7 separate regions of the Homo sapiens genome follow, and all the other regions are linked to region 3. Evidence: promoter capture Hi-C in 16 types of primary human blood cells and fetal thymus (Javierre and others, 2016). All regions are on one chromosome and are shown on one strand. The core of a region is centred on a gene start or on the middle of the fragment in contact, and the rest is flanking DNA. Distances in the headings are between cores, read along the strand shown. Region 1 has its middle 11 kb from the start of SALRNA1. Region 2 has its middle 43 kb from the start of SALRNA1. Region 3 holds the start of TMEM30B (transmembrane protein 30B). Region 4 has its middle 39 kb from the start of LINC02322. Region 5 overlaps SIX1 (SIX homeobox 1). Region 6 has its middle 4.4 kb from the start of LINC02322. Region 7 has its middle 59 kb from the start of SIX6.

Region 1 (3,056 bases), core at 42-2,541, 650 kb after region 3:
TTTTTAGTAGAATCATATCTTAGAGATCTGCTAAAGAGTACACCAGCTGCCTGAATGCCTTACTGTATTCAGCATGTTGGCAAAGATAATTTATTAAGAGTGTAACTTGTACATAATAAATAACATCCTTTATTGCAGTTGTCTAACCTGTGGTTTGTCATCTTCTTGTTAAGAGTTCAGGGTGGCTAGAAAAAAAAACATTTAAGGTTCTAGATAACCCATCAGAACAGGCTGAGTTTACTGCATTGTGGTTGCCTTTTAAGGTTCTTGGCAGAAGTTCACTGCCACCTTTGATGCCCACTCAAAACACCTCAGTATTTATCCTTTAAAAAACATTTTCTGGTGTTATTTCCAGAAGCAGTAATTATGCTCTCAATAAACCCCTTCTAGTCTTGTTCAGAAAGGGTTTAGAGGGGCAAGTATCATTTCGAGTTTAGCACATTAGTTAAACCTCAAGGGGTCTAGGACTTGGGCTAAAATCTGGAAAATATCTCATGGATTTTCAAATTGTCCATACTTTAGATAGGATCAGCTTGTGATGATTTAGAGACTTTGTCTTGGTCAACTTCAGAAGGTAGCATTATCATTCCTTTTTCTTTCTTCCTCCCCTCAACAAGAAAACCTTGACTCTGATGATTTATAAAGAACCTAGACATGTAGTTTTCTTTTCTGAATATTGAATAAATGTCTCTGGAGTGTTCTCAGGTTGCCAGATGTCATCCTGATATTAGAGGCTGACTGTCCTTTGTTTAAAGTTCCCAGGTAAGAGATTTCTAGTAAGACCTGATCCATATGGAGCACCTGAGGAGAGTCTGATCGGTTTTATATTTTTCCAAACTTTTGTTCTTGGACATTCCCCTACTCCTGTTTATTACTGAACCTAATTTCCCTTTGTGTTCTTTATTTTCTCGTCCATAATTCTGTCTAAGTTTTAAGGCATAGATGGCATCTGAGGGAAGATAAATAGAGGAAGAAGATGGGTATCTATCATATGAGAGGGTGCACTTTATTTATCTTTGTATGACCAGTGCCCAGCTCAGTGCCAAATACCTAGATGGTGCTTCATGGATGCTTTTTGAATAGATGAAAGAATGATGTTCAGGAGTATAAGGGACAGTGAGTGATAGGAACATTTCTCCTATTAATGTATTTAAAGGGTAGGCCTAATGCCTAGCAAATAGTAGGTGTTTGAGAAATGATAGCTTAAAACACAGACACACAGAGAAATCTTGGGGGTCAGAAACCTAAAACAATGTAATTTAAATCAATTTACTTTATCCTGATAAATAAGGAATGGGGTTTCATTGAACTATTTTAATATACTGATCCAAAACAATTTCACATATGAATTCCAAGGCAGCTAGAAGAATGGCAAATGCGTGAAATTAACTTGGTGGGTGAACTAGAACCATATCAAGAAATATTTCAAAAATCACACCAATCTTACTAAGGCCACTATTCAGAGAACTTGTCCCTTAATGCCATGGTTCAGCATCACCATTCACTGTGATTTATATGCCTGAACTACATAGTTCACTCAAAGTCATATTGCTGGTACTGTATCAGCCAGGATAAAGACTTGGTTCTGCATTCTATGGTGTGGTCATCTTGGCTCAATATTGGGTGTTTCTGGCTTGCACCAGTCATGTTTCTTCATTAACTTCTAGTTCCTTACCCTCCTCCCTTGAGAAGGATATAGTTTTATGACCATCAAGATATCATATTTTGGTCAGATAGATAAAAGGTCATCTTGACCTGCAAGATGAGTGGGAGGAGACATTTGCTTCGTATGTGTGTTTGGGTCTGGAAGGAGAAATTTTAAAGAGATGGGCTTCTATTGCTGGATGACCATTCTTGTATGTTCTCTCCATAAAAGTGTTAATATGAAATAACACTTTCATATTTCTAGAAGTGTTATTTTATTCTCAGAATTACCCTGGATTTGTCATTTAGAGGCATCATCTCCTACTGGCTAAGCACCCAAGTTTTGGTGTCAGATAGACCTGAGTTCAAATTCCAACTTTGTCACATACTGTCTGTGTGACCCTGAGCAAATAACCTCTATACTACTACTAATAATAAATAGTAGCAGTTGGCTGGGCGTGGTGGCTCACACCTGTAATCCCAGCACTTTGGGAGGCCAAGGCAGGCAGATCACATGAGGTCAGAAGTTCAAGACCAGCCTGGCCATCATGATGAAACCTGGTCTCTACTAAAAATACAAAAATTAACCGGGTGTGGTGGCGTGCACCTGTAATTCTAGCTACTTGGGAGGCTGAGGCATGAGAATCGCTTGATCCTGGGAGGCGGAGATTGCAGTGAACGGAGATCGTGCTATTGCACTCCAACCTGGGTGATGGAGTGAGACTCTGTCTCAAAATAAATAAATAAATAGTAGCAGTAATCCTTGGGTAGTTGTAATAGTAATCACACATTCAAGAGTTACACTTATCATGCTAAGTGCTTTGTAAGGACTTTTTTTTTTTTTTTTTAATGGGACAGAGTCTCTCTCTGTTGCCCAGGCTGGAGTGCAGTGGTGTGATCTCGGCTCACTGCAACCTTCAGCTCCTGGGTTCAAGCGATTCTCCTGCCTCAGCCTCCCAAGTAGCTGGGACTACAGGTGCATGCCACCAAGCTTGGCTAATTTTTATATTTTTAGTAGAGACGGGGTTTCACCATGTTGGCCAGGCTACTCTCGAACTCCTGACCTCGTGTGATCCACCTGCCTCAGCATCCCAAAGTGCTGGGATGACAGGCGTGAGCCACTGTGCCTGACCGGGACTCAACTATAAGACATGTCTATGCTGTTATTCACAGTTTAAAAATGAGATGAGGCTTACATAGATTATGTAACTTGCCTCTGACCTTTATTTTCCTTTTCTGCAAAGTGAAGATAATTGTGCTACCTTCCTCATAAGGTTGCCGTAAAGATTAAATTGCTGTATGTTGCAGGTTTTTGACAGCGTATGACATGTAATAAGTGCTCAGCAAGTGGTAGTGCTAGCTAGTAGTATACCTGGTCTTATACAGCCAATAAGACTTTATTGTATCTCTAT
Region 2 (3,306 bases), core at 168-2,667, 690 kb after region 3:
AGGTGGAGAAACAGTTTAGATGAAAGGAAATGAGATTAACAAGGCCTAATAACTAAATGCAATGCATGATCTTTGACTGGGTCCCGGATTAAAAAAGAAACAGCTAGAAAGGGCACTATTTGGGCAACTGGGGAAATGTGATTATGGTGCGTACATTAAATAATACTGATTTCTTGGGTTTGATATTTATATTATGGTTTTGTGTGAAGATTGTCCTTGTTTTAGAAGATACTTGCTGAAATATTTAGAGAAGTGACAAACTTATTCTGAAGTGGTTCAGCAAAACAATCTATATATTTCCCTTTCTCAAGAATCTACTGTAGATTGTGTGCCCAAAAGGGGAGGGGAGTAAAGCAAGAAAGAGGAAGACATGGAATCTGGGAATCAGGGGATCCAACGGGAGTGAGAGGGAAGGGAACCCCAAGATGATGGTGACGGGAGGTCCTGAGGTGACAGATGTACAGCAGGCCCAGAAAGTAATCAGCCCAGTCCAGAGGCTCTCAGGAAGATTACTTCAAGGAGAAAAATATTAGTAAAATAGATTACACATTTGAATGTATGGAGAAAAGGTTTACATAAGAGAGGAGTTTATAGTTGAATTCGTGATACATACCTTAAAATCCAAGCAAACGAAAAGCAAGACACATTAACTCCAGGCAGAACATAAAGTTATGGAGGAAAGGAAAAGCAACAGTGTACCACATGGCTTAGTACTCAATAGTCTTTCCATAGTCATAAGATATGGAATATTTATCTATGCAAAATTACAAGGTATTTTTATTAGAAAGATGGTGGAAGAAGAAATCTCTGTGTGTGTGTGTGTGTGTGTGTGTGTGTGTGTGTATAATAGAGCGCTGCAAAAGGAGAGCCTCTATATTATACCTACAAAAGAATAATCACAATAGCAATATAAACATGATATTTAGTAATAAGGAGGTAAATTCCACAAACATTGGAAAAAAGTGTTAAGAGAAATTTGTAGTGAATGGAAAATGGAAGTGGGAAAGAGGGCTCCTGTTAGTTGAAATAAACCTTGTAAAACTGCATGACTTATTTATGCATATTATGCATATGCATATTTAACTTTGAAAAAAAATTGAAAACAAAAGAGCATGTGTTATGCAGTATGGCTTCATGGAAAGAGCCCTGGTTTAGGGACAGGTGATCTGAGGTCTAATCTTGATTCTACCAAAGCTTTGATATCTATGTGACCCTGAGCAAGTCATTTGCATTCTTGGAAGTATATGTCCTTATTTGATAAAGTGGACTTAATAATGTTTAAGGACCTTTCCAGCTCCAAATTAAATAATATGATAAAGTACTTATCGAACATAAATATTTGATTGAAGAATTAAATATTTTACTAATGATAATTTGTTTCTATCAGGCTTACATTTAATGCATCTATATTTTAAAAACTGTTTTTATTAAGGTTTATTTTAATATGTTAGTACAAATATCTTCAAATGAAGTAGATTGCTATGGACTGAATTGTGCCCGTCCCCCCAGCGTGCTGTCCCCACAATGTGATGATATTTGAAGATGGGGCTTTTGAGAGGTAGTTAGGTGTAGATGAGTTCACGGTGGTAGAGCCCCCATCATGGGATTAGTATCCTTACAAGAAGAGAGATCAAAGCTTACTCTACCCACATACACGCAACGAAGAGGTTATGTGAGCACACAGCAAGATGGTGGTTGCCTCTTTTCAGAGGCCAGGCGTGGTGGCTCCAGCCTGTAATTCCAGCACTTTGGGAGGCTGAGGCGGGTGGATCACCTGAGGTCAGGAGTTTGAGACCAGCCTGACCAACGTGGTGAACCCTTGTTTCTACTAAAAATGCAAAAATTAGCTGGGCATGGTGGCAGGTGCCTGTAATCACAGCTGCTTGGGAGGCTGAGGCATGAGAATCACTTGAACCTGGGAGGCGGAGGTTGCAGTGAACAAATATCATGCCACTGCACTCCAGCCTGGGTGACAGAGCGAGACTCCATCTCAGAAAAAAAAAAAAAAAAATTATTGAATCTTAAAGAAACATTTTTAAAAAATTATTTTGTAACTTAAAAGTCATCCAATTTTTTAAAAGGTGAGAACATAAGTGTATTCAATGTCCTTTCCTCATAGAATCTTGACCCATTTACAATGTTTCTATTAAACAATTCTAAATATAATTTTTGAGGAATCAATTCAAATACTTTCCTTTGAGGATTTTTCTACATGATACTAATAAAGGTGTGGTTTTTTTGTTTGTTTTAAGAACAATAAGCAGACCTTTATTAAGCTGAGAAATAAAAATGAATGTCATTGGATTACTTAGATTTTGCTGTATGTATTTTTAGTCATTGTACAACATTTTTCATTTTTTTCCTGTCAAGATGTTGTGTTTTATAGGATTTTAAGAAAATAAAACATTCTTAAAATGAAGACCATAAATCAGTAAGTGGAGGCAGAACTCACTTATATAATAGCAGTAGGTTTGAAAGAAGTCTGAAATTATACATATGAATAAAAATGCAGAGTTGGAAGTACTCCTGTAAATACAAAACACTTAGAAAGAAGGAAGTGGGAAGAGAACGACTGCATAAACACTTACATGGATTATTTATGGGTATGATTGCTTTAAAGTGTGGATTGGCCATAACTTAAAAATTTAACTCTCCAATCTAAGACATTTGCTGAACTGAAAATCAGATGACAGTAGGCCTAGACGGTAGGTAGACTGAACTACCCTAGAGGGCATGCAGCTAGGACACTGGGGACCTCAGGAGTAAGGTATATGCTCTGTACAATGTCAGTCTTGGTTTGTTGGGGCCATCTGACTCTGGGTTTAGCAAAATAAAAACAAAATGGTGAATTTTAACATTTCCTTTTGAGTTGGGAAACCAAACCAAAAAACCACTTGACCCTCGCAGTTGCTATTTGCCTCAGGATAATGTGATCCTGAGCCTGTTTCTCCACAGCTTTGAGATCACATTCATTTTCTTGATATTTCACAACAAGTTTTAAAAAGTGATAGGAACAGTTTGAAATGACAAAGATGAAACATCAGCAGGGGAAGAGCAGCCAGAATGGCTCCTGTAGGAAAACGCTCGACTGCACATACAGAAAAAGCAAACTTAAGACAAAAGGTACTCATATGGGGCTTATGAGAAAACCTCCAGCTGTGATTTGGATTTTTGGACTCATGTCAGAGGAGCCTTAGGAATATGAAGAACATGGGAATTGTTTTAGTAAGACTTGCCTCTTTGTTAAGGCTTTCATAGTCAAGGGGCGGGGGTGAAAGGAGACCTCATAAAAGACCATAAATTACC
Region 3 (2,919 bases), core at 11-2,510:
CTGCAAATGCCTTGAGGTCAAAGGTCCTTTTTTGTCTAATTAGCATAGGACTGAACACTTGGAAGATGCTAACAACATTCCTCTGTTAAATTTAATAAGGATTTTAACTTTCCAAGTTCAATGGGTTTTGAATGACTCCTGAATATAATATATTATGCTAGGTGTAGTGTAATAGAGAAAACATTTGTATTACTTGCATTTTACAAGCTGGAGGAGAAGCAAGAACACAATACCTAGGGAAGATTTAGATTTAGTAAGAAATCAGAACGTCCCAATACCCCCTTGTATATGTTTTACCAACCTAGATTTAAAAAAAAAAAAAAAAAAGCCAGAATCCCAGGCAACATAGGGAGCTAATTTGAGTTCTTTTTATAATAAATCCTATAAATCCTTGTAGTTTACTTCCTTAGGCCAGACACTCCAGATGTTTTTGTGGATAGCAGCTAGGTCTCCTGGGACCTTGGATTGGGCCTTTCTCTAGTCAGGCAAATAATCTGAAAAGAAAACGAAATCACATGTAGTCCAGCACATTTTTTCCTTTCTTGGTTTCTCCACACCAGCTAAGAGTTATTTAAAGGCTCTGAACCTCTCCAGCCTTTGATTCTTTTTAAGGATGATTTTATTTTTAGAGAACTTTCCACATTTCCTAGTTATACAGCCAGACTGGGTGATCTGGCCAGAAAATCATTTTCCCTTAAAAAAAAAAAAAAAAAAAAAAAAAAAAAAAGCTAAAATTTGAACGCAGGCGTTGAATTCGAAACAGATTTATCATAACGTAATTCCCTGGACACTCCCAACTTGAGACTGAAAGCTGGGCGAAAGCGGTTTGTGAAGCTAACCTAAAAGACAAAATGGTCTAGAGCCACCTTTTCCCCGCAAATAACAGAGGATTAAGGATCTGAAATCTTCAAGCCTCCAGGACCACGGTGCAAGCCCTCAGCAAAAATTTCTGCTGGAGGCCGGAGCGCCTTTTGATTTCGGGAGACTGGCCCAGGAACTCTAGTCACTTGGAAGGCGGAAGAGAAGGTGGTACCTGAGCCAGGTAGGAGCCACTCAGAGGCAGCCCGGGGCCGCCACTCACCTAGGAGAGGAGGTGGAGTCCGATGACCTGGACTGAGAGGAAACGCGAGACTGAGTCTACCAGGTGAGGTAAAAAACACCCACCTGCTCACCTCGGAAGGGGCGGGCGAGGTGCGGCTCCCGGTGACCCGCGGGGGTGCAGCGCACCTGGGCGGAGGCGGAACTGGGAGGGTGTGGGCACTGCTCGTAGGGCCTGGAACTAAACTCACCTGTGACGGAGGCAGAGGAGGGGCCCGGGCAAAAACCCACCTGAGCTGGCGGGAAACCCGACCCGCGAGCAGTCCCCGGGCTTGCGCGGCGCGGAGAGGGAGGCGCCCCGCGGCGGGGCCCCCACTCGGTCAGCCCGCGCGTCGGTCCCCGCGCGGCCGCCATGACCTGGAGCGCCACGGCCCGGGGCGCCCACCAGCCCGACAACACCGCCTTCACTCAGCAGCGCCTCCCCGCCTGGCAGCCGCTGCTGTCGGCCAGCATCGCGCTGCCGCTCTTCTTCTGCGCGGGCCTGGCCTTCATCGGCCTGGGCCTGGGCCTCTACTACTCCTCCAACGGCATCAAGGAGCTGGAGTACGACTATACAGGCGACCCGGGCACCGGTAACTGCTCGGTGTGCGCCGCGGCTGGCCAGGGCCGGGCGCTGCCGCCCCCCTGCTCGTGCGCCTGGTACTTCTCGCTGCCCGAGCTCTTCCAGGGCCCAGTGTACCTCTACTACGAGCTGACCAACTTCTACCAGAACAACCGGCGCTACGGCGTGTCCCGCGACGACGCGCAGCTGAGCGGACTCCCCAGCGCGCTGCGCCACCCTGTCAACGAGTGCGCCCCCTACCAGCGCAGCGCGGCCGGCCTGCCCATCGCGCCCTGCGGCGCCATCGCCAACAGCCTCTTCAACGACTCCTTCTCGCTTTGGCACCAGCGCCAGCCCGGCGGGCCCTACGTCGAGGTGCCGCTCGACCGCTCCGGCATCGCCTGGTGGACCGACTACCACGTCAAGTTCCGCAACCCGCCGCTGGTCAACGGCAGCCTGGCGTTGGCCTTCCAGGGCACGGCGCCCCCGCCCAACTGGCGCCGGCCAGTCTACGAGCTCAGCCCCGACCCCAACAACACCGGCTTCATCAATCAGGACTTCGTGGTGTGGATGCGCACGGCGGCGCTGCCCACGTTCCGCAAACTGTACGCGCGCATCCGCCAGGGCAACTACTCGGCCGGGCTGCCGCGGGGCGCCTACCGCGTCAACATCACCTACAACTACCCGGTGCGCGCGTTCGGCGGCCACAAGCTCCTCATCTTCAGCAGCATCTCGTGGATGGGTGGCAAGAACCCCTTCCTGGGCATCGCCTACCTGGTCGTCGGCTCCCTCTGCATCCTCACCGGCTTTGTCATGCTGGTCGTCTACATTCGCTACCAGGACCAGGACGACGACGACGAGGAGTGATTCCGGCTTTCCAGGGATCCCTCCTGCTTCTTGCCAAAACTCTTGCAAGGTGCTTTTGGCATCTCCTCCTCGCCCGTCACCCAATTCCAACCTCGCCTAGCTTTTCCTCCCTTTGTGAATGAGGGGACCAGATAAGGGAATTACCCCCCTTGCTCTTGGGGGGCTGCTAGACTGTCTTGCCGCGGGGAGGGATGTTGACTGCAGAGTGAAACATCCTTGCAAACTCTTCCCACCTCCTTCACGACACTGAGTTGCCATGTGAGGTTCTTCAAGTCTGAGAGTGGAAGGGATCCCTATGGAGACTCCTATTAAACCCCTATTAGAGGAAGAGATTGAGAGACCTAGCAATGTGAAGTAACAAAGATCAGGCAGCTGCAAGTGACTCCTGAATCTTGAGTCCAGGGCTTTCGCCA
Region 4 (3,276 bases), core at 497-2,996, 920 kb after region 3:
AGTCATTATACTAACATATTAAAAGAGAGAGGAATTAGATTTCACCTTTGATGGAAGATTGTCAAAGAAATTGCAGACATGTTTAAAAACCACTGTACTATGATAGAAAAGGACAAATTAGAAAGGACTCAGAGCTCAGCTAGTTTAAAGCTTGAGTTTTTCAGGTGTGGAAGCTGAAAGAGGGTAACTGAGTTGCTCAAACTGTTCATTCAAGGCAAGCATTGAGCTGGAATAAAAACACTTTCTTGCTGTGCCTCACGATTAAGACCTTTTTCCTAAAGATAATAGCAGTCCTTGATTACTACTGGGTACCTTTTTTTGATGGTTTTACTGACCAGTAAGGAATCTGATATAATTACTATGACATGAAACCATATATAATATGTTAAATCATTATAAGAGCAGAAGCATCTAAGAAATATTTCTCCAAACTCTTCTTTAGCTTTTTGAAAAAGATTAATTGGCTTGCTTATATTAAAGTCACAATTTTTTAAGGGGCTTAAATGCAGTGATGAAAACTGTTCTTCAAGGCAGTTTCCAAATTTTACCTGTTTTGTGGCATTTTTCGGGATCAACCTAGTCAGTAATAATGGCTTTCACTCAGAGGCAGATTGACAGTAAAACTACTGAAGTGTTCTTTGACTCTCTTCTGATGTATTCACTGAGTTATGCTTTTGTAAAATTTGCAAGAATAAGATATTTTAACTGTAATCAGTTAAAGCCAGTTGTGTGAGATGATATTCGAATGGCCAATGGCACTTTTGAGATCCAAATGAGGGACTGGTGAGTTGAGGGCACATTTTGAGTTTAACAGGGTATGTTTAGGTGGCTTGCAGTTGCTTCAGTGTCTATCTAAGGAACCCCAGAATGATGTCAGAATGGCTTTCAGTGTATTCCTTTGGCCCATTGTGCCTGCTCAGCCAGCACATGACAGGAAGGTATGAGGCCAGAGTCCAGACCACCCTATGAAGGTGTCCTATGGTGCTGTGACAGACAGCTCCCACACAGTTCCCAAGGATGCTGCCTCCTGTGTAATCTTCCCTGTGTAATCCCCTCCCTGTGAGTGTGGGTGGGGCCTAGGAACTCCTTCCAACTGAATAGTGATAGAATATCACTTCTGTAAGTAGATTACAGAAGAGATTGTGGCTTTGTTTTGCTAGCATGTTCCCTCTTGCTTGTGCACTCTGATGAAGCCCGCTGCCATGTTGTGAGATGCTCCATGGAGAGGCCCATGTAGAAAGAAATGATTTCTATAGTAATTATGTGAAATAGAATTTATCAGATTCCCTTGTTTGTAGTCACAAACCTATAGGAAATCAACAAACACCAAGTGCATCTTTTACAGCTAATATATGAAAGAAACTTGATGGGGGTTTCCAGAATTTTCCTCAAAAAATACAGGGGGCAATATATTATAGAGGCATGTCAGAAAATTAAGCACAATTGTGATGTTTATGGTATATGTGAACTTTCTAAAGTTTGTAATTTCTTGTTATTTATTTTCTCAACCTAAATAAATATTCGTTTTCTTACCTAAAAAAAGTCTAAAAAATTTGGCACTCTAATAAGGAATTTTATTATTCAATATAGTATGTTCAAAAGGGAATTATCACTTTTTAAGTTGTTTTCAATGTTTGGGGAAGAAATATTATTAAAACAATACATTTATTTTCTAAAGAGGCTGATTAGTCTGTTTTCACACTGCTGATAAAGACATACCTGAGACTGGGTAATTTATAAAGGAAAGAGGTTTAATTGACTCACAGTTCCACATGGCTGGGGAGGCCTCACAATCATGGCAGAAAGCAAAGGGGAAGCAAGACACATCTTACATGGCAGCAGGCAAGAGAGAATGAGAGCAAAGCAAAAGTGGAAACCCCTTATAAAATCATCAGATCTGGTGAGATTTATTCACTACCACAAGAAGAGTATGTGGGAAACTGCCCCCATGATTCAGTTATCTCCCACCAGGTCCCTCCCACAACATGTGGGAATTCGGGGAGCTACAATTCAAGATGAGATTTGGGTGGGGACACAGCCAAACCGTATCAGAGGCCCAGGAAAAAAATATGACTGGAGAAGCTGCTTTCTATATAGAAAGAGACCTCATATCTCAGCCTTTAACATGCCTGGCACATAGAAGATTCTCAATAAATATTTCTGAGGAAAGGAAGGAAAGAATGAAAGAACTGTACAGTGTCTACCTAGGATCACAATCTGTCTTATATCGCAATAGATGCCTCATTATTACTACACTTTATCCAAAACACTTAACACAGCACTCTGAGGAGTAAACAAAAAAATTAAAGGTAAAATGTATAATTTTATTTGGATCTAATGATCAGCATGCAAGGTTTTCTGAGAGTTCGAAGTGTAATACTTTTTGAAAAGTTAATGTCTCTTAGCTATATAATAGCTATAAAATCACACAAACATAAGAAAAATAAGCATAATTATTTCTTTTTAAAATAACTTTCTAAAAGAAACATATTTGGCAAGGGCTATTAAACTTTTGATTTGATTAGATGCCAGCATTATGTACTGAAGGCAGTAAAACAAATAGGCATATTCTATTTGTTATAAAGCTGTGTGAGGTCCCTTAATGCTGCATATATTCTTTTAAGTTGCACCACTTGCTTAGTACAGTTTGCTCAATGATAAACATAATTTTCAAATGTGTTTATTATTATATGAATTTTCACCAAGATCTTAGTGACTAAAGTTTATATGATGAGATAAATCTAAGTATCAGATATATTCTATTTTAAAAGGAAGACCATTATAAAACATCTTCCCTGTTGATTGCATTTTTCTGTATCTAAATAACCTTTGCTTATTAGATATAGAATTATATTAAAGTAATAAGGTTAACAAGACACACATAAAATATGGAGAAAAATGCAAACTAAAAACCTTTATCCTAACAAATATTCATAAATTTCTGAAAACAACTGCAAATAATTATTGCACAAAAATGATTAATAAGTAGTGTTGTCAGGTTTTTAACAAATGAAAAGGGGATATTCATATTCCTATTAGTGCATAGCTCTCATTATGCATACCTATGTCAATTAGCAAAACTTATTAACTAAAGGGCATATGTTTAGCAATAAATGAAAAACAGACTCCCTTTTTGCTGCAAAATCAAAGATAATCAGCCACCAAATATCAAAGTTTATTAATGAGCTTTATTTGATGCTAATTTTCCCTAACTATATTAGAATGACAAAACTAATTTAGTAATGGCTCCTGGTACATAATTATAACTATTTGTTA
Region 5 (3,054 bases), core at 216-2,715, 640 kb after region 3:
TAAGCCAGGCCCGAGGGCCGACTCCAGATGAAATCAGAGACTGGCTGCGCTCCCTGTGTTTACTCAGGTCACTGGGCCGCGCTGGGCACCACTTCCCATGACCTGTTCTGTGTCTGCAAAACCACCAACTCTGGGCTGGGGCAGGAAAACGGGATGTTTAATTGTCTCCTCATATGCGAACAAGGCAATGGACTTGATTCACCCCAAACATTTGTGCATTGGACTCTGTCCTCTATCATTTCTTTATCACCAATATCTATTTATTGAAAGATTTTCAGTTACATTTAAATATGTTGCTAGTTTATATGTATTTAAATGTAACTGCTTGAACAAAATTTAAAACATATATTTTGTATGTTTCAAATAAATCCTGCTAATCTATCACTTTCTGAAATCTGGAAGAGAAAAGGACCTGGCTCCTAACAGGAGGCTCTGTCCGTAGCTCTCCATTTCTCCAGGTTCCTCTGACTCCTCACCTCCCCCATTACCCTTGGGGATGGGTGGAAGGGTAGAGCTCCTCCATTTGGGTTGGTGACAGATTGCACAATGGCCCTTTCCTCCTTCCAGCTCCCCTCCCTCCATCTCACACTTTTTTTTTAACCTACTTTTTTTTTTTTTTTTTTTTTTTAACCATATGGTGTTGTCCTCTATTTCTTAGGGAGAACACCGAAAACAATAACTCCTCCTCCAACAAGCAGAACCAACTCTCTCCTCTGGAAGGGGGCAAGCCGCTCATGTCCAGCTCAGAAGAGGAATTCTCACCTCCCCAAAGTCCAGACCAGAACTCGGTCCTTCTGCTGCAGGGCAATATGGGCCACGCCAGGAGCTCAAACTATTCTCTCCCGGGCTTAACAGCCTCGCAGCCCAGTCACGGCCTGCAGACCCACCAGCATCAGCTCCAAGACTCTCTGCTCGGCCCCCTCACCTCCAGTCTGGTGGACTTGGGGTCCTAAGTGGGGAGGGACTGGGGCCTCGAAGGGATTCCTGGAGCAGCAACCACTGCAGCGACTAGGGACACTTGTAAATAGAAATCAGGAACATTTTTGCAGCTTGTTTCTGGAGTTGTTTGCGCATAAAGGAATGGTGGACTTTCACAAATATCTTTTTAAAAATCAAAACCAACAGCGATCTCAAGCTTAATCTCCTCTTCTCTCCAACTCTTTCCACTTTTGCATTTTCCTTCCCAATGCAGAGATCAGGGAAAAAAAAAAAAAAAAACCCAAACAAACAAAAGCACCCAGGCACCCAGTCTGAGTTCTGGGCAACTGATACGCCTGTTTCAGCAGCCTTTCTTTTTTTTCAATGAATGGGAATTGCAAATCAACTGGATTTTCATTATTTCCTTTTAATTTATATATGGAGAAATGTGAAGAGGGAAAGGAAATGGAAAGAGAAAGAGAAAGGGAGATAAAAATAGTGAAAATAAGAGCCTCCAGGCTCAGAAGAACTGATTACATTCTTAAGGTGAACAGGAAAAATACAATCTATAACTTTCTTTGATGAGGAAAAATTAAGTTTACATTTTTCATATTTAGTGTTAAACAATTTAATGTAGATTAAAATAAAAGACCAGTATTAGGAGGAAAAAACAAGTGCCTAAATGTCTTAATGCTCTCTATGTGAGACAGAAATAGACGTGACCATTAGTAATGCAACTATTTTTGTCAAATTTAGTGGGATTTTTTGGTTGTTGTTTGTTTTCTTGGGTTTTTTTTTTTTAAATGACAAACTCTAAAAATGTACCAATGTGAAAAAACACTTTCCTGAATGCCATTACTCATGCCCTCAAAGCTTTCATATCTGTAGCCTACTCCTGTAAAGGGTTTCTCCTGTTTCTAGTTTCTAGTTTGCAAAGGTATGCCAACGAATCTGGCAACCTGGTATTTGTTACTAAAACAGCATGTGTTTTCAGGTTTCTTTTCTATTGTACCTAAAGCAGTCTAAATTAAAACTTAGTAGAACACCAGGAGTATGATTCTGTTTCTGAAAGGTGAGTGGTGTATTGCTGTCATTGGGCCCTATTTTTTTTTTTAAATATATTTTTCTTTCTTACTTAATGGTGGCTGTGAATTGCAGGGTACTTTGAAGGCCATCATCTGAACCAAGAGTAGTAACTAGATTAATTATATGACAGAAAGAGTGAATTTAGCCTTGGGGTATTTATTAACTTCTATTATTTAGATATGCAATTTTGTTTACCACTATCTCTTCACAGCATTCATATGTTAACTAAGCTCTTTTGTGTTAACAAGTTTATGACAAGACTGTGAAAGTAAAAATAATTTATCTGCTTGAAGACAAAAAAGGGAAGGAGAACAAGGATAGAAACATTGTGAATTAATTTGTACAAATAGAAAGCAGACCAGCAGGACAGGAGCTCTTTTGCAGTGCTGCCGGATGGTGTCTAGAAAAATCCCAGTAATCATGTAGGCTCCATATTATTTTTGCCTGGGGCAAAATGATGTATCTTCTGTATTTAGCTTTTAAAATTAGTGAAACAAATGGCATTATTTATTAAAATTCTACTCAGGATAACAGGATTGGCTTGCTTGTGCTTTGTAAAATATTGTTCCCCAGGGAGAATCTATTTATTTTCTGACATGACAGTTTCATAATTTTGATTTTTTCCCATCTATAATTGTCACCATTAATATATTATTTCTTTCTTACTCTTTCCTATTTCTGTTCTGGTCTAGAAAACTGAGGTGTGCTTGGGGAAATCAAGGCCTTATTTTTTAAAACTGTCAAATAGCTTTGAGTTCCAGGGAGAAATGGTCACTGTACTTAACTGTACACACTTTTACTTATAAAGTCGTTTTTCCCCCTCAGTGATGGACAGATGTGCACACAGCCACTCAGAGACCATCATTTGGTTTGGGAGCTCAGGGTCCCAATCTCCCTTGTTAGTGTTTTGGATCATTAAGTCGGTGTTTATTTAAGTCACTAGGGTGTTTATTCTCCCTGTCTTGGGCCACGGAGAAATGCCACCCTCTGCAGGAGGGGCTCTCACAGGGAATCTCCTCACATTCTTCACATTCACTCCCCAAAACAAAC
Region 6 (2,939 bases), core at 215-2,714, 950 kb after region 3:
GTTTTGTTCAGGTTCCAAGCACCTGGGCTTAGCACATAGAAGGCTCTTAAACATTTGTTAAATGAATGAATGAACCTCAACCTTTCTCACCTTCAGTGAAAAGCACTGCAAGGTGATTGAGGAGAAAATAAGGAAGCCTTAGTCCCTGACATTTGTTGAGAAAGGGGTCGAGGAGATGATGAGGGGTGGGGAGAGGAGGCTTTTCCCATGGAACTCTCCAACACTGCTGCAGAAAGCCAAGCACATGACATGCACCACACGACCCCTAGGTGGTGGTCCTTGCAGCCGATTTCAGAGACCATAGCCCCAAAAGTGCAGAGGGTTCCTCTGTTCCCTCTCCTTGGACAGTTCCCATTAGTCTGTCTGGCCTTACCTTTCTAAAGAAATTTGCCGCTTGAAAATCACAGTGATGTACGTTATTGAGTCCCCAGAACTCTCAATCCCCTCTGTTTTTGCCCATCCCAAGCCCAAACTGGCAAGCTCTCTTTCTGCCCGATCTTCCAGGAAGCTTCCCCAACTGCCACAGTCCTGTCCAATTTCACTGAATTTTATTATTTTCAATAGACATATTTTTTAAATGTCTCTCTAAAAGCGACTTAAGATTATTATGTAAGATTTTTATAAGATTATTAACTTTGTAAGATTTTGCCCATCTGAATCAATCTCCAAATCATAGAAAAAATGTTATTGACCTGATAATCGTGTTTCAATCCGGGGTTTGGAAAAGATGTTCACCACATGGAAATCATGGCTAAGACCCATTTCGCACAAAATGCACACTCAGGCATGGTTCAGTATCACGGTGCAGTGTGTGCGTGTCGGGTACCTCACCAGCCACACTTCGGCTTTGTAAAGGTGGGTTGGGGAGCCGAGTCCTCCCATCCTTTCACAGCCCCCGCAGGCCCTGGGTGAATGCTGGTCTAGTGAATTCACAGCTCCCGGGCAACTCCCAGCCGCGAGGCGGGGCGGCAGGGTGGAGGGAGCCACCCGCGGAGAGGCCTCGACCCCCACCCCAGCGAAGCCTAGGGCCGGGGAGCTGCACCTCGGCGCACCCCGCCTGGCGCCCTGAGCCCGCGTGGGCCCGGGCCGGGTTTGCGGGGAGGCAGCTCGGCTCCCGGAGGTCCTCCCGCAGGCGGCGCCCTCCGAGCCAGGCGCGAAGTGCACCCAGGCCCCGCAGCCCAGCGCCGCGTGGCCATCCAGAGGGATTTGTCAGCGCGCCCTATATAGCCGCAGACAGCTGCCATCTGTTATGTTTAGTAACACCACCACGCCGCTCCCCCTTCCTTGAGAATAAACCCGCCTTGGTCATTAAGCCACGAGGATATTTTTTTAACGACTCCCACTCCCTCTTGCAAGCAGTCTTAGCTCATCAGTCCGGGTCTGAGTCTTGAGCGCCCAATTCTGCTTCCTCACTGCGTCCTGGGCGCTCTCTGAGCTGGACGAGCCATCCACTGTGGGCTTGGGCCCCGGGCAGGTGCTTACAGGAAAAGGCGGAGACAGCGCCTCCCTCCATGGGTGCAGCGAGGAGAAAAATCCGTGGTGTGTGACCATTTTAATGCATCGCATTTCAGTTCTGCAAATGCAAAGTGTAAATTAGGCTAGAACATGATTGTGAATCAGACCAGACGTCATGATTAATTTATCACTGTGCTCCAGATACATCAGCTAAAATAATATGAATTTAAAGTAACGGTTCCTCCCGCCTTTGTGTTTGCTGGTGAACTCTAAAGAATAGATCACTAGAGAAATAAAGGAACTTAAGAGTCCACTCTATTCTCGTATTAGCGGAGCATGAACATAATTAAACATTCTCAATAAGGTTTCTTCCACCGTTTGAAATTAAATTTGCCCACCCACATTTTGTATCCGTCTGTGTAACACTCACTGATGCACCCTGAGCTGCTGATAAACATTGAGGCGGAGATTAGCTTTTTCATATTTCAGGTAACATTTATGATGCCTCAAGTTCTGGTTCCCAAACTGGCTGATTATCAAAATTGTCTAGGGCCTTGCCACTAAAAGTGTGGTCCATGAAGTAGCGGCACGGTATCACTTTTGAGATCGTTAGGAATGCAGAATCTCAGGCCCTACTCAGACCTGTTGATGGGAGTCTAAATTTTTTACAAGACCTGCCCTCACCACATCACCACCCCCATTAAAGTTTGAGAAGAATTGATGTAGTTTTTTAAAAACCACAAATACCTTTGCTCAGACATCTATATATGTTTAGTAAGCAGCCGAGTTGATTCTTATAAGTTGAGTTGTCAAGTTTGGAGGTCACTGGTCTTTGAGGCTCAAGGTTCAGATGACTTTTATGCTGATGACATGAACCAAATTTATTAAATCAGTGGAACTCTCTCTGAAAGTTTGGTACAGGTGAGTTTATCTGTTTAGTCATCCATGAATTACAAGAAAGCTTATTAATTATTTAGTTAAATAATGACACATTTAGTCCTCCAATTAGGAAAGCTCAACACTAGGAAGGAGGATTTTCTCCTTATGTAACTGGCTCATTCACTCCCAGACTGAGTGTAGGCATGAGGAAATCTTTTGCTTGGCCATCAAAGCCGCCCCCACCCCCTTCGAATGTTCTGACTTTCTTTATAACAGTACCTTTCATTCAGAAGAATACAAACATCCCTTGTGCTGCTGTTCAGTGATGTTGAGGGCTGTACTGGAGGACTGTGTCTAGTTCTGGACCTCACAATAAAAGAGGGATGTGGGGACCTTGGCAAAGGTTCAGAAGATATTTGTAAAGGTTATTTTTTAAATTCAGAATGAATCTTCACATTGTGTGGCATTATCTATAAAATGGACATGAAATGAACTTTGACTGTAGCTTGAGATTTTTACTTTAAGAGAAAAGCAATTGTAGAAATAAGTGGAGGAAGAAGAAAGAATGTCTCTTGAGCACAAGTTCTCACCTTGTGCATTAGTTA
Region 7 (2,999 bases), core at 29-2,528, 710 kb after region 3:
ATTGCAAGACAATGGGGTCTTTGACCTGGTAGTTGATGCTGTAGAGGCCTGTAGAGTAGAGATGCTGGAGGAGGCCTTCTGCTCTCTGCCATCCCTGTACCTTGCTAGCTTAGAAGTCAGGGAAGACATAGGCCTACCATTTGCTCTCTCCTGGCTTTTGTGGGACAGGGTGACAAGCGTACTCACACATGGAGTCAAGGTGGATCATCAGTAGGAGCCATAGTTTGCCAAATGCCAAGCTGTCTCCAGTATTCACTGCCTTTGGTTCTCACCTCTGAGTTTAGTTTACAGGGAAGGAAACCTCACATCAGGTCATTCTACTGTGACCCTGTATAGCTACAGCCTCATCTATAACCAGTTGCCTGAAGGTCCTTAGCAGCCCCATGACTCAAGAGAGGCAGATAGCTTGTGGGAATGAACTAGAAGGAGCTGCCTTCAGGATGCCTTTTTCTGGGATCCAGATTAGATAAGCGTTTGTCTAGTTACCTCATTTATTTATTTCATTCACTGCTAAGCTTCTCAAAAAATAAATTGTACCTGTTTTCTCCCTTTCCCATCTCATGTTTGCTTTAGAATCCACCGCAATGAAACATTAGTTCTACCACTTTCCTGAAACTGCTCTGACAAAGGCAACCATTGACCTCCTAATCACCAAATCCACTGGAATCTTCATGTTTCTCAGGTCTTTCTTGATCTCTCAGGTGCATTTAATTTACCCTTGCTGACCACTCCTACTCTGCTTGTGACTCTTTCTTTGGCTCCCATGACAATATTGTCTTCTAATTTTTCTCTCATCTCTCTGATCCTTCTTAGCCTTCCCTTCTGGTTTTTACATCTCTCCTATCCTCTTAATTTTGGCATCTTCCATAGTTTTGTTCTGTTCTTTTCTTGCCGTCTTTGCCTTGCAGTGTACTTTGCCACCTTTATATGAATGATTCCCAAGTTCAGATCTCTAACCCAAATCTCCCTTCCAAACTCCTGATCCATTTATGCAGTTGCCAACAGGACATTTCCACCTGGACAATCCATAGGCATTCTGAACACAACATTCCAAAACGGAAAGTAATCTTTCTCAGTAGTGTTGTATAGTTCAGAGGTTAGCAAACTGAGGCCCATAGGTCAAATCTGGCCTTCTGCCTGTTTTCTGTAAGGCTTGCAAACTAAAAATGGTTTCCACATTTTTAAATGGCTGGAAAAATCAAAAGAATGATAATATTTCATGACACATGAAAATTGTATAAAAATTAAATTCATCATTTATTAGGAAAGTTTCATTGTAACACAGTCCCACTCTGTTTTTGTTATTGTTTATCTTTGGTTATAGCTTTCTTGCAATGGCAGAGGGGAGTAGTTGAAACAGAGATTGTATGGTCTGCAAAGCCTAAAATATTTACTATGCAGTCCTTTACAGAAAAAGTTTGCTGACCCCTGGTGTAGCCAAATGGACCTAGCTTGAAATCTTGGCTCTGCCATTTATTCTCCATGTAACTTGCGCAAATTACTCCTGTCAATTTCGGTTTCCTCATCTGTAAAATGAGAGAGAATAATTATATTTACCGCTCAAAGTTTTTTGTAGATTAAAAGAGATCAGCTGGGCTTGGTGGCTCACGCCTGTAATCCCAGCACTCTGGGATGCCGAGGTGGGTGGATCACGAGGCCAGGAGATCAAGACCATCCTGGCTAACACGGTGAAACCCTGTCTCTACTAAAAATACAAAAAATTAGCCAAGTGTGGTGGCACGTGCCTGTAGTCCCAGCTAGTTGTACTTGAGAGGCTGAGGCAGGAAAATTGCTTGAACCCGGGAGGCGGAGGTTGCAGTGAGCTGACATCTCGTCACTGTACTCCAGCCCGGGCGACAGTGCGAGACTCTGTCTCAAATAAAATAAAATAAAATAAAAATTAAAAAAACATGCATGTAAGACATTTGGCATACTTTGGCATAGTAGTGCCTAATGCAAATTGCCCCATGAGTGTTAACTATTGTTACTTCTCCTCAAACTTACTCTTCCTCCTGTTTTTTCTATCTTTGTGAAAGCTTCATGGTCCACTGGTCACCCAAGCTAGAAACTCAGGAGTCATTATAAACTTTACATTCTGTTGTTGATTTTACCTCCACAAAATCTAACATGTCCATTTTTTTTCCTTTACATTCACTAATACTGCCTTAGCTCACACCTAATCTTCTCTTGCCTGAACTCTCTCCTAACTTGTCACCCTGACTCAGATATTGTCCTCATTTCTCTCTTTTCCACACTACTACTTGAGTAGGTATTCTAAAGTGAAAATCTGATTGTGTTACTCCCCACCTTAAAACCATGCAAGCACTCTCCATTATCTGCAGGATAAAGCCTGAACTTCTTTCACCATCCTGCGTGGTCACTTCTCTGCTCAGCTGTAAATTTCACTTCACCCCACCTTGGATCCCATGTACCTGCCTTTTTATGGCTTGACATTTCCAAGGCAACCTAAGATGTCCTTCCTCATCCTGTCAACCCAGGCAACATCTACTTCACTTTTAACATTCAACTCAAGCATTACTGCCACTATGAAGTAAGTCTTTAACTCTCCCTATTTTTGTGCAGAGTTGAGTACTGTCCCCTGCTTTTTTTTAGGGACAGGGTCTCACTTTGTCACCCAGGCTGGAGAGCAGCAGTGCAATCATAGCTCACTGTAGCCTCAAACGCCTGGGCTGAAGTGATTCTCCTGCCTCAGCATCCTGAGTAGCTAGGACTACAGGTACCACTATGCCCAGCTAATTTTATTTTTATTTTTATTTTTTATAGAGACAGGGTCTCACTATGTTTCCAAGGCTGGTCTTGAACTCCTGGCCTCAAGTGATTTCCCCCCAACCTCAGCCTCCCAAAGTCCTGGGATTACACGGATGAGTCATTCACCCCCCGCCAGGCATTCCCTTCTTTGGGTTCTCATGGACTCTTATTTTCTTTAGTCACAACATGTAGTTATGATTCTGGGCTATAAACTCCTTGAGAGCAGGATA

What was found. Contacts are between HindIII fragments. The CHiCAGO score rates a contact against its expected background, and 5 or more counts as called.
Region 1: a contact is called between a fragment that was not itself captured here and the fragment with the promoter of TMEM30B in region 3, in 5 of 17 cell types (M2 macrophages, M0 macrophages, erythroblasts and 2 more). The highest score is 11.8, in M2 macrophages.
Region 2: a fragment that was not itself captured here is called in contact with the fragment with the promoter of TMEM30B in region 3 in 1 of 17 cell types (endothelial precursors); the score reaches 5.3 in endothelial precursors.
Region 4: a contact is called between a fragment that was not itself captured here and the fragment with the promoter of TMEM30B in region 3, in 1 of 17 cell types (M0 macrophages). The highest score is 6.5, in M0 macrophages.
Region 5: a contact is called between a fragment that was not itself captured here and the fragment with the promoter of TMEM30B in region 3, in 2 of 17 cell types (M0 macrophages and M2 macrophages). The highest score is 8.4, in M0 macrophages.
Region 6: a contact is called between a fragment that was not itself captured here and the fragment with the promoter of TMEM30B in region 3, in 4 of 17 cell types (M2 macrophages, monocytes, M0 macrophages and 1 more). The highest score is 7.9, in M2 macrophages.
Region 7: a contact is called between a fragment that was not itself captured here and the fragment with the promoter of TMEM30B in region 3, in 1 of 17 cell types (M2 macrophages). The highest score is 7.1, in M2 macrophages.

Annotation. Positions count from the first base shown.
Region 1 is chr14:60,627,084-60,630,139 of GRCh38, reverse strand. No RefSeq gene overlaps it. Among named protein-coding and RNA genes, the nearest start is that of SALRNA1, 11 kb to the left of the region's middle. The HindIII fragment of the contact is 2,693 bases long and covers 1-2,637 here.
Region 2 is chr14:60,594,119-60,597,424 of GRCh38, reverse strand. No RefSeq gene overlaps it. Among named protein-coding and RNA genes, the nearest start is that of SALRNA1, 43 kb to the left of the region's middle. The HindIII fragment of the contact is 442 bases long and covers 1,197-1,638 here.
Region 3 is chr14:61,279,679-61,282,597 of GRCh38, reverse strand. TMEM30B (transmembrane protein 30B) reads left to right here and starts at 1,260. Exons shown (of 1, transcript NM_001017970.3): 1 at 1,260-2,919. The coding sequence starts at 1,451. The coding sequence ends at 2,506. It also overlaps a transcript of PRKCH not described here. RefSeq lists an enhancer at 1,835-2,798. The HindIII fragment of the contact is 12,699 bases long and covers 1-2,919 here.
Region 4 is chr14:60,360,137-60,363,412 of GRCh38, reverse strand. No RefSeq gene overlaps it. Among named protein-coding and RNA genes, the nearest start is that of LINC02322, 39 kb to the right of the region's middle. The HindIII fragment of the contact is 3,188 bases long and covers 153-3,276 here.
Region 5 is chr14:60,644,182-60,647,235 of GRCh38, reverse strand. It overlaps SIX1 (SIX homeobox 1), which reads left to right. Exons shown (of 2, transcript NM_005982.4): 2 at 659-3,054. The coding sequence ends at 953. Among named protein-coding and RNA genes, the nearest start is that of MIR9718, 2.9 kb to the left of the region's middle. RefSeq lists enhancers at 1-340, 2,770-3,054. The HindIII fragment of the contact is 656 bases long and covers 1,138-1,793 here.
Region 6 is chr14:60,326,150-60,329,088 of GRCh38, reverse strand. No RefSeq gene overlaps it. Among named protein-coding and RNA genes, the nearest start is that of LINC02322, 4.4 kb to the right of the region's middle. RefSeq lists a silencer at 861-1,170 and an enhancer at 1,281-1,340. The HindIII fragment of the contact is 1,908 bases long and covers 511-2,418 here.
Region 7 is chr14:60,566,200-60,569,198 of GRCh38, reverse strand. No RefSeq gene overlaps it. Among named protein-coding and RNA genes, the nearest start is that of SIX6, 59 kb to the right of the region's middle. The HindIII fragment of the contact is 1,521 bases long and covers 518-2,038 here.